Linked DNA regions of Homo sapiens: region 2 is linked to region 1. Evidence: promoter capture Hi-C in 16 types of primary human blood cells and fetal thymus (Javierre and others, 2016). All regions are on one chromosome and are shown on one strand. The core of a region is centred on a gene start or on the middle of the fragment in contact, and the rest is flanking DNA. Distances in the headings are between cores, read along the strand shown. Region 1 holds the start of HORMAD2 (HORMA domain containing 2). Region 2 holds the start of CABP7 (calcium binding protein 7).

What was found. Contacts are between HindIII fragments. The CHiCAGO score rates a contact against its expected background, and 5 or more counts as called.
Region 2: a contact is called between the fragment with the promoter of CABP7 here and the fragment with the promoter of HORMAD2 in region 1, in 6 of 17 cell types (endothelial precursors, M0 macrophages, erythroblasts and 3 more). The highest score is 7.5, in endothelial precursors.

The regions. Positions count from the first base shown.
Region 1 is chr22:30,078,333-30,084,539 of GRCh38, forward strand. HORMAD2 (HORMA domain containing 2) reads left to right here and starts at 2,132. Exons shown (of 11, transcript NM_152510.4): 1 at 2,132-2,159. HORMAD2-AS1 (HORMAD2 and MTMR3 antisense RNA 1) reads right to left here and starts at 1,925. Exons shown (of 5, transcript NR_110541.2): 1 at 1,796-1,925. RefSeq lists silencers at 164-283, 1,733-1,782 and enhancers at 334-413, 1,588-2,285, 2,123-2,202. The HindIII fragment of the contact is 6,725 bases long and covers 1-6,128 here.
Region 2 is chr22:29,715,393-29,722,390 of GRCh38, forward strand. CABP7 (calcium binding protein 7) reads left to right here and starts at 4,611. Exons shown (of 5, transcript NM_182527.3): 1 at 4,611-5,141. The coding sequence starts at 5,033. CABP7-DT (CABP7 divergent transcript) reads right to left here and starts at 4,511. Exons shown (of 3, transcript NR_186695.1): 1 at 4,156-4,511. RefSeq lists a silencer at 1,435-1,635 and an enhancer at 5,920-6,710. The HindIII fragment of the contact is 23,163 bases long and covers 1,417-6,998 here.

The DNA.
Region 1 (6,207 bases), core at 882-3,381:
TGGGGGCTCAAGCCTGTAATCCTAGCACTTTGGGAGGCTGAGGTGGGTGGATTGCTTGAGGTCAGGAGTTCAAGACCAGCCTGGCCAACATGGTGAAACCCCATCTCTACTAAAAATACAAAAATCAGCCGGGCATGGTGATGCATGCCTGTAACCCCAGCTACTTAGGTGGCTGAGGCAGGAGAATCACTTGAGCCTGGGAGGTGGAGGTGGCAGCGAGCCAATATCACGCCACTGCACTCCAGCCTGGGTGACAGAGCAAGACTCTGTCTCACAAAAAAAAAAAAAAAAAAAAAAAAAAAAAATTAGATTGAGAGAAATTCTATGAAAGAAACAGAATAACGAATAACTGTGTTTGCTGGTGGGGTAGACTGCCAATAGTATAGGGCAGAGAGGGGTAAGTCTTTGGATATGGTAGCAGTTGACTGAGCTCAGATCTGAAGGCAGAAGAAAATTAGAACAGCCAGCACAGAGGGCCTAGTGATCCAGCCAGAGAGGCTGGTAAATGCGGAGGCTGAGAAGGGCTGGTGCAGACAAACCATCTGTGTGGTTGGAGCTTAAAAAGCAGTTACTTCCGGAAAGTATAGGGTGAACGCAGTAGTTCTCAACAGAGGGCAATTTTGCACACCCCATGGGACATTTGGCAAAGTCTAGAGAAATTTTTGGTTGTTATGATGGTGGGGGTGGGGAGAAGGTTGAGAAAACTTGCACTAAAAGAATATTTCAGCCCAAATTTCAGTTTTAGTCATTATGTTCTAAACTCATGTTCTCGCCAACTTGAATAGTTTTTTTTTTCTTTCCTGCAGAAACAAAATAAGAACAGGTTTCAAGTGGCTCACTCTTTCATCTACTCTCTTGGGAAATCCCCTTGGGGAGGTTCATGGGACTCCAGGAGCCTTTGGAAAGCACCACAGGATACGAAATATCTACCTAAACAGGTGAGAAACGATCCAAGGAGCCACACCCCCAACTGCTCCCACAGTTACCAGGGCAGAAAAAACTGAGATTAGGGGTAGGGCACAAAGGAGAATATATTTATGTTTTATTTGCATAATTACAAATTAATGTTAAAAAGAATGCAAAGTCAGGTCCAGGGTAGGGATGAAGAGGTTGCAGATGCCCTCAAGTATTGGAAAGCTCTGGCCTTCTGGCCTTATGTCTTTTTTCTTTCTTTTCTTTTTTTTTATTTTTGAGACAGGGTCTCCCTCTGTTGCCCAGGCTGGAGTGCAATGGTACGATCTTGGCTCACTGCAACCTCAAACTCCCCGGCTCAAGCGATCCTCCTACCTCAGCCTCCCGAGCAGCTGGGACTACAGGCGCACGTCAGGTGGCCCAGCTAATTTTTGTACTTTTTAAAATTTTTTTGAGACGGAGTCTCGCTCTGTCGCCCAGGCTGGAGTGCAATGGCGGAATCTCGGCTCACTGCAACCTCAGCCTCCTGGGCTCAAGCGATTCTCGTGCCTCAGCTTCCCAAGTAGCTGGGACTACAGGCGCGCGCCACCACGCCCAGCTAATTTTTGTATTTTTTGTAGAGACGGGTTTTCAACATGTTGGCCAGGCTGGTCTCGAATTCCTGACCTCAAGTGACGCGCCCGCCTCAGCCTCCCAGAGTGCTGGGATCCCAGGTGGAGCCACCGCGCCGCACTTCTCGGGCCTTCTTCTAACTCGGGTCCCTGGGCCCCCCAGGCTCTCGCTTCCCTCCCCTACGCCGCCCCGCGCCCGCCTCAGACCTCTCTGGGACCCGCCGGCCTGGCGTCCTGGCCCGCCCGAGCCCCACGGTCCCTCGGGTCCTAACCTCGGCGGGGCAGGCACCTCCTCAGGAAGCCCCGGAGCAGGCTGTCGTTGTATAGGTGGCCCAGGCTGGCGGCCCCTGACCGAAGGTCGCGTCGGGTCAGTGTGCAGCCCGTGGCTGAGAGGCGGCTGCTGAGGGGCCGGGCGGGCTAGGGGCCGGCTAGCCGCCGTTCGCCCCTGCTTTGCATATTCATGAAGTCTAGCGAGGCCGGTCGCCCAGGCTAGCCGTGGACGGGTCATGAATTATTCATGAGGAAACCTCTGGTCCCGCCCAGAAAGGCCTCGTTGACTATTCATGAGCCGAGGAGCGGGTTTGGGCCGGAAAAGGCCGTTGACCCCCGGTGGGAGGGAAGCGTCGACGAGCTGAGGTGAGGGCTGTTGAGACGCGAGGTCTCGGCCCAGAGAGGGCACTCGGGCGTTGTTAGTTCTGTCTTTATGTCAAAAAACAATTTTTTTTTCTTTTCTTATTACTTAAGGCTTTAAGTTGGATTTGAAAGTATCATATTTCGTGAGGGCCTAAAGTACTGTGAAGAGAATCGGGAGGGCAGGGGGCTGAGGAGGAAGGCAAAAGGGAGGCGATTTCCCCCAGAACTGGACAGAGAGCACCCAGGTAGTTTTGAAATTCAGATTTTTCTGGACATGAAATCAAACTTGCTGAGCAAGCAGCAGCCATAATGAGCCATGATGAGGCTGGCAGGGCAGACGATGTCTGTGCCCGACATTGGAGGGGGCCGTGTGTGGTGGAGCTTTGGGGAAGTTTATCTTACCTGGGTCAGATTCTCCCCAGCCATTGAGGTTTTCTGCCAGGATCGATGCCTGGTACAGGCCAAGAGGTGAGAGAGGTGGGGACAAGACACCCCGCCCCCCTTGACCTCAGCTCCCCTTTCACTTTAGTGAGGATTTGCCAATTAATCCCTATGGACTTTAGTTCCCTAAACAGAGGGAGAGAGTCTTGAACCTCAGGATTAGCCAATCGCCAAAATGTGTCCGAGTACGCAGGGCACTGGACAGGCTGTGCAGTACATCGTGTACTCAGCTGGTAGAAATGAGGGGTGGTTCTGGCCCCTAAAGGGGTTTTTAATCTCAGCAGGATCATAATCTAATTTCTCCTCCATTGGACCATCAATCTGTTGAGGTAGGAACAGTATTTTACATCTCGTAATCCTGCATGTTGTTGCCTGGCACATTGTAGTTGCCTCGTAGATGTTGAATGAATGAATAATTGAAATAGCATGAAAAAGATATTAAAAAGTCAAAAGAGCATGAACAAATACTCAATTAATATAGTGGAAGCCATTTTCTCTGAATGAGCACAGGTAGGGGAATTACCAGGGCCAAATGGAATTTGTTAAAATGGTGAATAATTTATTGAAGCAAGCTCTGTTGGAAGGTCTAAGTAATTGGGCGAACTTTGGCAAACCAAGTTCCCTTGCTTAGCCTCACTTTCCTTTTCTTTTTTCTTTTTTTTTTGTGAGATGGAGTCGAGCTCTGTGCCAGGCTGGAGTGCAGTGACGCAATCTCAGCTCACTGCAACCTCCACCTCTCGGGTTCAAGCGATTCCCCTGCCTCAGCCTCCCATGTAGCTGGGACTACAGGTGTGCACCACCACGCCCAGCTAAATTTTTTTATTTTTTTTTATTTTTAGTAGAGACAGGGTTTCACCATGTTGGCCAGGATAGTCTCGATCTCTTGACCTCGTGATCCTCCCACCTCGGCCTCCCAGAGTGCTGGGATTACAGGTGTGAGCCACTGCACCTGGCCCCTTTTCTTTATAGTTTTATGTTTAGGTTTAAATCCATGATCCATTTTGCATTAATATTTGTATACAGTGTGAGATTTAGGTTAAGTTTCTTTTAATTCTCTGTTCTTCCCCCCACCCTCCAGATGTCCTTTTGTTTCAGCATCATTTGCTGAAAAAAAGATTCTTCCTCCACAGAATTGGATCTTCTTTAAATCAAAGGGGTTGGAAGATGTCTGTGCTCCCTTCCAGCTTTAGGAATCTATTGAACCCATTTATGTTAACGTACACTTCTTTTGAGTAAAGCCATTCTTAACAACATGCATGTGTAAGGAAGGTAATATAGTTACATTTCAGAATCCAGCTATTGGATAGTGTTCACCTGATAGAAAAGGGATTTTCTTGTAAAAAACGGTTTTTGAAGATTGAGAAAGATGGGTAGAGAGCCTTCATAAATCAACTATGATTATATTTGGGAAAATGTAATAAAACTTTGGCTTTTGCTTCACTTGGAATGGTTAAAAAAGTGGTTTAGGCCTTAGTAAACTAAACAGCAGCTGGCTAATCTTTATGTGAATCTTGGACTCACACATAGTAGGGGTAAAATAGGAAGTAATTGTGCCACCATATAAAATAGGGCAATTGAAGGCGTGGTGTGGTGTCTCATATGTGTAATCCCAAAACTTTGAGAGGCCAAGAGTTCGAGGCCAGTCTGGGCAACATAGTGAGACCTCCCCCTCCACCCGCCCGCCCAACTCTACAAAAATAAAAAATTTTTAAAAATTAGCAGGGCATGGTGGTGCATGCATATAGTCTCAGCTACTTGGAAGGCTGAGATAGGAGGATCACTTGAGCCCAGAAGTTTGAGGTTGCAATGAGCTGTGATTATGCCAGCCTAGGTGACAGATCATGCCACCGCACTTTACTCTGTCTCAAAAAAAAAAAAAAGAAAAGAAAAGAAAAGAAAATGAATACACAACAACAAAAAAAATAGGGCAATTGAGATATAGGTCAAGAGGTAAGCCTAGAGTGAATCTTTACCAGAAAGAGCATAGAAATATTGCCTCTTTCTCAAGAAGATCATAATCCTTGTCACAAAGTAGACATATCAAATGTAAGAGTGAGGGTCAGTTGCAGTGGCTCACACTTATAATCCCAGCACTTTGGGAGGCTAAGAAAGGAGTATTGCTTGAGCCCAGAAGTTCAAAACCAGCCTGGGTAACATAGTGAGACCTCATCTCTACCAAAAATAAAATTTGCTGAGTGTGGTGGCACATGGCCTCTAGTACTAGCTACTTAGGAGGCTGAGGTGGGAGGATCACTTGAGCCCAGGAGGTCGAGGTTGCAGTGAGCCAAGATTGCGCCACTGCATTCCTGCCTGGGTAAACAGAGTAAGACCTTGTCTCAAAAACAGAAGAGGGAATGGTATTGATGAACTGTGAAGTTTCAAATATGTGTGGATCTAATTTGCAAACAAATATATAAGAGAATGACATTGCAAAGTTAGCTTTCAGTTCTTAAAATCCATAGTTATGAAATCTCTTCTAGGTTTTTAGATAATGAGCCTGAACAAAGGGATAACACATAGAAAAAATCAGACCTATTCTCTGAGAATGCATGCTCTCTAGAGTCATACCTCCTGTGAACTTGTGAGCTTTTAAAATTAAGCAGGGTTTGTACTTAAATAGAAGACCTCCACAAAACACCTGCTCAAAGGGAAAACAGTAGCAACAGAATAATTAGAGGCTGAAAGGAGTCTGGCTTTTTTTTTGAGACGGAGTTTCACTCTTGTTGCCCAGGCTGGAGTGCAATGGTGCAATCTCGGCTCACTGCAACCTCCACCTCCCGGGTTCAAGCAATTCTCCTGCCTCAGCCTCTCAAGTAGCTGGGATTACAGGCACCCACCACCATGCCCAGTTTTAGTAGAGACGAAGTTTCACCATGTTTTTTGAAAAAATAATTTAGATCTTTTTGCCTTCCTGAAGCAAGCTCATGCTAGAACACTAGAAAGAGACCCTCCCATGTTTAGAAATAAGTAGGCAAGCCGAAGAACTAAGGAGGCCCTGGTAGTACATCATATTAGATAGAATGAAAGCAAAGGAGAATTTCATTTTGGAGAGTCAGTCTGGAAAAACTTTTAAATTGTGAGCCAGACTTGTTGAGTTTTAGTCTCAGTTCTGTTACTGAGTGGCTGACTAATCCCGGGTAAGTCTAGATTTTGAATTCCCCATCTAGAAAATTAGATATTTGGACTAAATTACTGTCTTAGTCCAGTTTGTACTGCTGTAACAATACCTGAGGCTGGGTAACTAAAAAGAGCAGACATGTATTGGCTTATGATTCTGGAGGCTGGGAAGTCCAAGAACAAGGATATGCATCTTGTAAGGACCTTCTTGCTGTGTCATAACATGGAGGAAGGCATCACCTGGTAAGACAGAGAGAGCAAGGAGAGAGAGAGTGAGTGTGCCAAACTTGCTTTTATAACAAATCCACTCTCCTGATAATGAACCTGCTCCTGGGGTAACAATATTAATCCATTCATGAAGGCACCTAATCACCTCTTAAAGGCCCCAACTCTCAACACTTGCATTGAGGATTAAGCTTCCAAAATATGAACTTTGGGATACACATTCAAACCATAGCAATGATATTTAAAGTTTCTTCTACCTTTAAAATTT
Region 2 (6,998 bases), core at 3,361-5,860, 360 kb before region 1:
CAGGGATCTGGGAGCCCAGAGCAATTAGGAGCTGCCTCGCGCCTCGTCTCCCGCCAGCTGCCGCAGCTGTCACTCAGGAAGTGGTCTGGGAGCAAGGGCTAGGCCTGCAGTACCCATGGTCCCCCTCCCATCTGTGAAGGTTCTGATCCCTGGGGCAGCCTCCCAGCCAGCAGCCCCGCCAGGCCCCGGGCATAGGTGGAGGCCCAGAGGACGCCAGGGACAGGATCTCTGTGATTTCCTAACGGGGACATCCCCAGGCTCCTCTTACCCCTATCCAGACTCAGTTTCCCTCTGGAACATTGGTTCTAACCCTGGCTGCACCCTGGAAGCACGTAGAGGAGCTTTAGAAGAATACCTGCCCCACCCCCCAAGTTTCTGCTCCCAGCCCAGACCAACGGGAGCAGAACCTTTCGGGGGGATACAGGGCAGTGCACTTGAATGTGTGGCAGGGTGAGCCAGGATTTTGCAGTTATTGACATCATCCCTGCCCTGAGGGCTGGCAGCTTCTTTCCTCTGGGGACCATGTCTCCCCTCCCTTCCAGCTGGACCCAGTGCAGCCGGGGGATACTGTCCTGGCATGACCTTGAACTTGATGCTTACACCCTCTCCACTTTTATTTCCTTGTCTGGACAATGGGTTCATTGATAGCCTTGGCCAGCTCTCCTAGGTCCCTCCATAGCTTCACCCTCCGCAGCTGGGCCCTGAGCCTGAGAGGGAGGCTCAGAAGGTCCAGCCTCGGACAGCAGCACCAAGCACTGTCACCTCAGCAGATCCCTGCAGCAAGCTGTGTGGTGGCAGCATAAACTCCATTTTACAGGGACGAAAACTGAGACCAGGGCAGGGGCTACACTCAAGTCATAGAGCTGGTAGCAGGGGTCAGACTTCATCCCAGCTGCACTGGACTCCGAGTCCAGTGCTCTTTTCCCATCACCAAGTTCCTTCCCCCAATAGCAACAAATTCAAGGGCCTGTCCCCTTCACTCTGTTTCCCTCACATGGACTCTGTTCCCTGTTGTCCTTTCCGCTCCTGTCACCTTCAAGAGCTGGGCATGTGGGCGTTCAGAGGGGGGTAGCCAGAGAAGAGCAGGGATCTGAGCAGTTGGGGCCTCTGGGTTCTGGCCTGCACCCCCTCTCAGCCCGGTGTGCATCTTTGAGTCTATAAATTCCATTATTCATTAGTTGACTTCGGGAGTTTGCCCGGACAATGAATATTTTATTCACCTCCAGACACTGTCCCCAGTGCGTTCTTGGAACAATATTGTTCCTCAGCCTAGGAGCAGAGGCCATAGCCTCTGCCCTCCCTGGACATCCCCTCCCTACCACCACTACCTCCCCTCCTCCAGTACCTTCTCCCCCAGCAGGAGCCCTGGCTTGGGTAGGGCTGCAATTATTGGTCCCAGCATGATCTTGAACTTGAAGCTTACACCCTCTTCACTTTGATTTCCTCGTTTGGACAATGGGTTCATTGATAGCCTTGGCCGGCTCTTGTGGGTCCCTCCACAGCTTCACTCTACACAGCTGGGCCCTGAGCTCTGCTGGGAGCTCTCCCTGGTGCTGAATGTGGCAAGAGGATGCTGGCCTCGGACAAGAGGTCTCTGGCCAGGGAGGGCAGGGACTGTGCTGCTCTTGAAAGGAGTGGGCTCCAGTCTCAGGGAGGGAAGAGTCTGGCCTCTGAACATGGCAGTTCCCACCTCTCTCCCCTTGTCTCCTTCCCACTTGGGGAACCCCCCTGGAATCACAGGTTTCAGCGTGTCACCTCTCCCAGTGTCTCTAGCCTCCTGACCCAATGATTAGTTAGCAAGGCCTGTGGAGAACCCCTCTTGGGAGGACCTGAGGCTCAGGCATCTCCCGGTGGGCACCCCAGAGAGTGCAGTGTGATGGCAGCAGCACCTTCCCCAGATGGGGGAGCGACAGACATAATTCACACCCTGTGATCATGCCATCTGCTCCCCCGTGACGCACAGAGGAGAGGACGGGGCTGCAATGCCGAAGGGCGGGGGGCGGTGGTGAGCGGGCAGTCGTTCATTCACTAATTCTCTCGTTCATTCATTTGACAGATGTTCATCCAGCCCCAGCCACCTTAGCCCATTCCAGTCCTGTGCCAAGCGTAGGAGATCTGGAGAACCCAGACCCAGACCTGCCCTTCAGAGCTAAGAGAGGCCCTCTCACACTTCTGAGCTTTTGCCCACCCTCCTCTTGACCCCTGGAATTCCCTTGACTTGAAAAAAAAAAAGCCACCATGGGTTGGGAGTGGTGCCTCACGCCTGTAATCCCAGCACTTTAGTAGGCCAAGGCGGGTAGATCACTTGAGGTCAGGAGTTTGTGACCAGCCTGGCCAACATGTTCTCTACGAAAAATACAAAAATTAGCTGGGTGTGATGGCATGTGCCTGTAGTCCCAGCTATTCGGGAGGCTGAGGCATGAGAATAACTTGAACCTGGGAGGCGGAGGTTGCAGTGAGCCGAGATCATGCCACTGCAATCCAGCCTGGGCAACAGAGAAAGACTCCACCTAAAAAAATAAAAAAAAATACCCACCTGGACAGCAAGCCCAGGAGCTTCCCCTTCACAGGGCGAGTACCAACACGCTCTGCAGCGGCCTCCCAGGGAGTCACTGGGAGCTGGGTTTCCTGCCAGCCTCTCAGCAGGCTCTAGCCCACTCTCCCTTGGCCCAGGGGTTCTGATTTAGAACTGACAGGCCTGGGCTGGCACAGCCTGGACACTTAGTAAACGTGGAACGACTGAGCTGCTGCTGCGGCTCGCTCTCTCAATCAATACTCGAAGCTATAATTATTATTAATTCCTATTCCTTGGGGGGGATGTTCATGCTAATAGGAAACTCCCAAGAGTTTCAGGGAGGTGATGCCCGGCACCTTTCCTACATTATGTCACTTCATCCTCACCGCTGCCTGGGATGTGGCACTGCCACCTTAACAGGCAGGGAAACTGAGGCTATGGCCGGTTAAGGGACCTGACTGTAGTTCCATGGTGAGGAGATGGTGGATGCAGAAGCCCCAGTCTGCCTGGCTCTTGGTGCTGGGTTCTTACTTCCTCAAGTCTCTGCTCCATCAAAAACACTGGGGAAGCTCAAGGCATTCAGCTCTAGCGGTGGAAGGTCAGAAGATGGGACAGGTGGGCAAGGAGAGCTTTGGAGTGGGGTGGGAGCTTTTCTGGGGCCTCTCTCACCTCCAGGCCCAGGTCCCAGTGGGCAACCAGCTAGCCCGGAGAGGTCTGGGGAGACAGACAGACAGCTGGTGTCCTTCCTGGCTCCTCCGCAGGTTATAGATGTTTCTAGGAGCTCCCTCCAGAGCAGGGCCCAGGAAGTGCTGGGCCCAGGCTGACCCAACCCCGCTTGGCTGGGGCTAGCATCTCTCACTGAGCCCCTTCTCCCCAGACCCTGAGACAAGGCTGCGATTAATCAGTAACAAAAACAGAAACAAGCAGAAAAGTGTAATCAGCTTGGGAAGGGCAGGGCAGGACCGGGCAGGGCTGTGCAATCAGCGTTCCTGCTGGGACCTTTAGCTGATTGGGCCAAAGGGGGCAGGGAGGTGGTCCCAGTAGGGGGATTCAGGGAAGCACCCAGAGATGGGGCCACAGCCAGGCCAGAAGGTCACCCCCTCCCATGCACATCTGTGCACCATATGCCCACACCACTCCCAGCCCCAGGGCCTGCACACCTCCCCCGACCTGCCAGCGTACAACCTTGGCACACACAGGTGGCCACACACTCCCGACATTTGTCCATCTGCATATGGAGTCACAGACACCTGCGCACGTGCCCAGTGGCACATACACACCCTCATGGATAGCAGACATATGCACACGCAGGCTGCTCCCTCAAACACCTGCCCCCACCCCAGCTCTGGGGTGCCGACGTGCCCTGGGGCCTGGGGAAGCCCTGCACATACATTAGGTCTGAGCTGCAGCCATGTGAACTGGCAGGCCCTCACACCAGACCCCACAGGCACCGGGCCATGTCTCTGTCCCGAACTGCCCTGGGGGCCATGAGACACTTTGGCTCCTCTTCTGCAAGCTGAAAGGTAGGGGCTTGGGAAGGGTCCGGGACTGGGGCCCCATTGTGGGGAGCAAGGTCAGCGGCAGGGTGTCAGTCACAGGCAGGGCAGGAAGCCTACCCCAGACGTGTACCCAGCTCTTACCTGCTGCTCCTGCCCTGTGACCTTGGTCAACGTCCTTCTCTCTCAGCCTCAGTTTCCCCACCTTGGATCCTCCTGGCACGGAAACGGTGACTCTTCTTGAGGACCCAGGTGCTTGGGGCCAGTCTCACCTCTCTGGGTCTACAGTTCTTAGTTCCGGGCTCTCCGCTCCTGGTGCGTGGATGGGGGAAGGTGAGCCAAGGGGCAGGAAGGAGGACCCCCGCAACCCACCCCCTCCCTGGTCCTGGTGGCTGCAGACTTAGGGTGAGGAGAGCCAGTGAACAGAGGGGAGCCCTAGTGGGAAAGGGGAATCGGGGCCGAAGGGGAGAAGGAGCCCCGGGCAGGTTTGGGGCGGCCGCTCAGGGGCCGGCGGCGGGAAGGGGCGGGCTGGGGGTGGGGAGCGCGGAGGGGGCGGGCGGGCGGCTGGCGGGGGAGGCGGGGAGCGCAGCCAGCGCGGCACAGAACGAGCGAGCGAGCGAGCGGAGAGGCGGCTACAGCCTGAGCGCCGGGCCGGTAGCGGCCGCGCCGGCGAGCGGACTAGCGGGCGGCGAGCAGCGCGGAGCGCGCGGGGCACCGAGGAGCGGGCGCGGCGGGCACCGCGCGAGGCAGCCGGAGCTCTCGGAAAGGCCAGAGCGGCGCCGCCCCCGCTGCCCCTGCGGGGCCCCGGCTGGGAGCCCGACGAGGGAGCGGGCGGCATGGCCCGGCGGCCCGGGGCGCGGGGGCGCTAGGCCCCCGGAGGGGCGTCCCCAGCCTCGCCGCTGCCGCCGCCGCCCTCCGCAGCCGCGCGCCCCGCCCGCTCCAGCCGCCCCCGGGGCCGCCACCGGCCCATGAGCCCCGGCCTCAAAGTTTGCGGCGGGCGGGCGGGCGCGGAGCCTCCAAGATGCCGTTCCACCCGGTGACGGCGGCGTTGATGTACCGGGGCATCTACACCGTGCCCAACCTGCTGTCGGAGCAGCGCCCGGTGGACATCCCGGAGGACGAGCTGGAGGGTGAGTGTCCGCCGGGATCCCCGCCCCGGCGGCCCTCCTACCTGTGCGCCCAGGTGAAGCGCGGGCCAGGGGCGCGGGGGCGGGGGGCGGGGGGCGGTCCGCAGGTGCCGGTTGCCAGGTGGGCGCCCCAGCTAGCAGCTGTGCCCCGCGGCAAGACCTGTCCGCACCCCGGGGCGCCGCGGTGGGGGTCGCTCAGGCGGAGAGCGGCCCAGCCCCTGCCCGCGTGGTCCCCAGCGCTGCGGAAACTTGCCGGGCCCCGCAGCGGGGTCACGGGGCCGCGCAGTCGGCGGTGACGGTGCGGCAACGCGGCGGACTGGGGCGGGGGTCCGCGCTGAGCCCCCAGCGCCGGCCCGGCCGGAGCACCCGCATCCTGATCCCCTCCGCGGCGCCCGCCCGCGGCTCTCTGCTCGCATTGACATTCCGCTCGTGTCGCTTTAAAAATTCAATCTGCTCGGGCAGCAGCAGAAGGGGAGAGGGCGACTGCCCTGCTCTTGCCCGCTGCGGGGCCGCCCCCGTCCCCACCTGCGGCCGTAGCCCCTTCCCTGCAGCCCTGCGGGGACCCCCAGCCCGGCGCGCCGGGAAGGCGGCCCGGGAGGCGGTGGCGACAACAAGTGGCCGGACTGGGCGGCTAAGTCGCGATAGCCAAGCCTGGAAGGGAAAGGCAGAGAGGCCAGGACCCAAACCCGCCCCCACCCCGTTCCCCCTGCCTCTCAGACTCGCAGGGGGATGGCAGGCCGCTGGCTGGGCGAGGTCAGAGCAGAGGGCAGGGGCAGGGGTCCGGGACAGTGTGTCCTGAGGAGCAGTGAGACCCCTGGGGCCCGCCCAGCTCCTTCCCTGCTGGGCTGGGGGAGGTGCTGAGGTTTCCCCTCCCCCCAGACCTCCTGGAGCCCCCATATGGAGTGGAGTGGGGGATCTGGGCTGATGGGGGTCACGGCCTCCTGGGATCTGCATGTCTGCTGTTGCAAGGGGCTGAGCTCACCCAGAGGATGGGCCTCTCGGGGTACCTTGGATCCAGGGGTCTCTGAGATCTGGAGGCTCATTAGGGCCTGGGAGGGTGCAGCCAAGACCAGCACAGTCAGGGAGGATGGTGGGAGCCCAGGGGAAGCCATGGAGGGAGGTCCTCCCTCAACCCAGGCCCAGGGTGAGGGCAGATCTTAGAGGAGTCAGAATGGGTCGGGGGAAGATCCAGAGAGAGAAGGCAGCCTCTGCCTCGCTCACTGCACCATAGGCATGAGCCACCAGGCTCCTCACCAACTGCCCCTGCAAACCCTCAGAAGCGGGGAGAGCTGTGGAGACAGGGTCTGGGGTCTGATGCGGACAGGACAGATGGATGATTGGGGCCCCCCGACATGACCTCACCATTCACCCCTAAAACCCAGGGCCAGAGCCTCCTCCAGAGCCCGGGGAAAGGAGGGGTACGATGGTGGGGGGCGAAAGGTCAGGAGATGGAGCATAGGCCTTCTCCTCCCCACCTTTGTCCCCTCCGGCCCTGGGCCACCTCAAACCTCCTGCAGATTTTTCCCTCCAGAGGCCCTCATCCATCCCCTCCTCCTGACCATCCAAGCAGGAGTCACCATGTCTCCCAGACCCCAGGCAGCTTCCGCTTCACTCCCTCCCCTTGCTCCCAGCACCCCCACCAGGACCCCACCACCCCAACTCCAGCCCTTTCTGGGTCCCTCCTCTCCTGATCCCCAGTCCTGGAGTGCACTCCCTGAGGAAGGGGAGAGGCTGAGAGGCTGGCTGCAGGGGCGAGGGGCCGCAGGGTGGGCAGTGCAGGGGCAAGGCCGCAGGCTCCCCAACCAACGACATGGCGTGCTGGCAGGAGCCCAGCTGCGTTAGTCACCAGCCACAACAAGT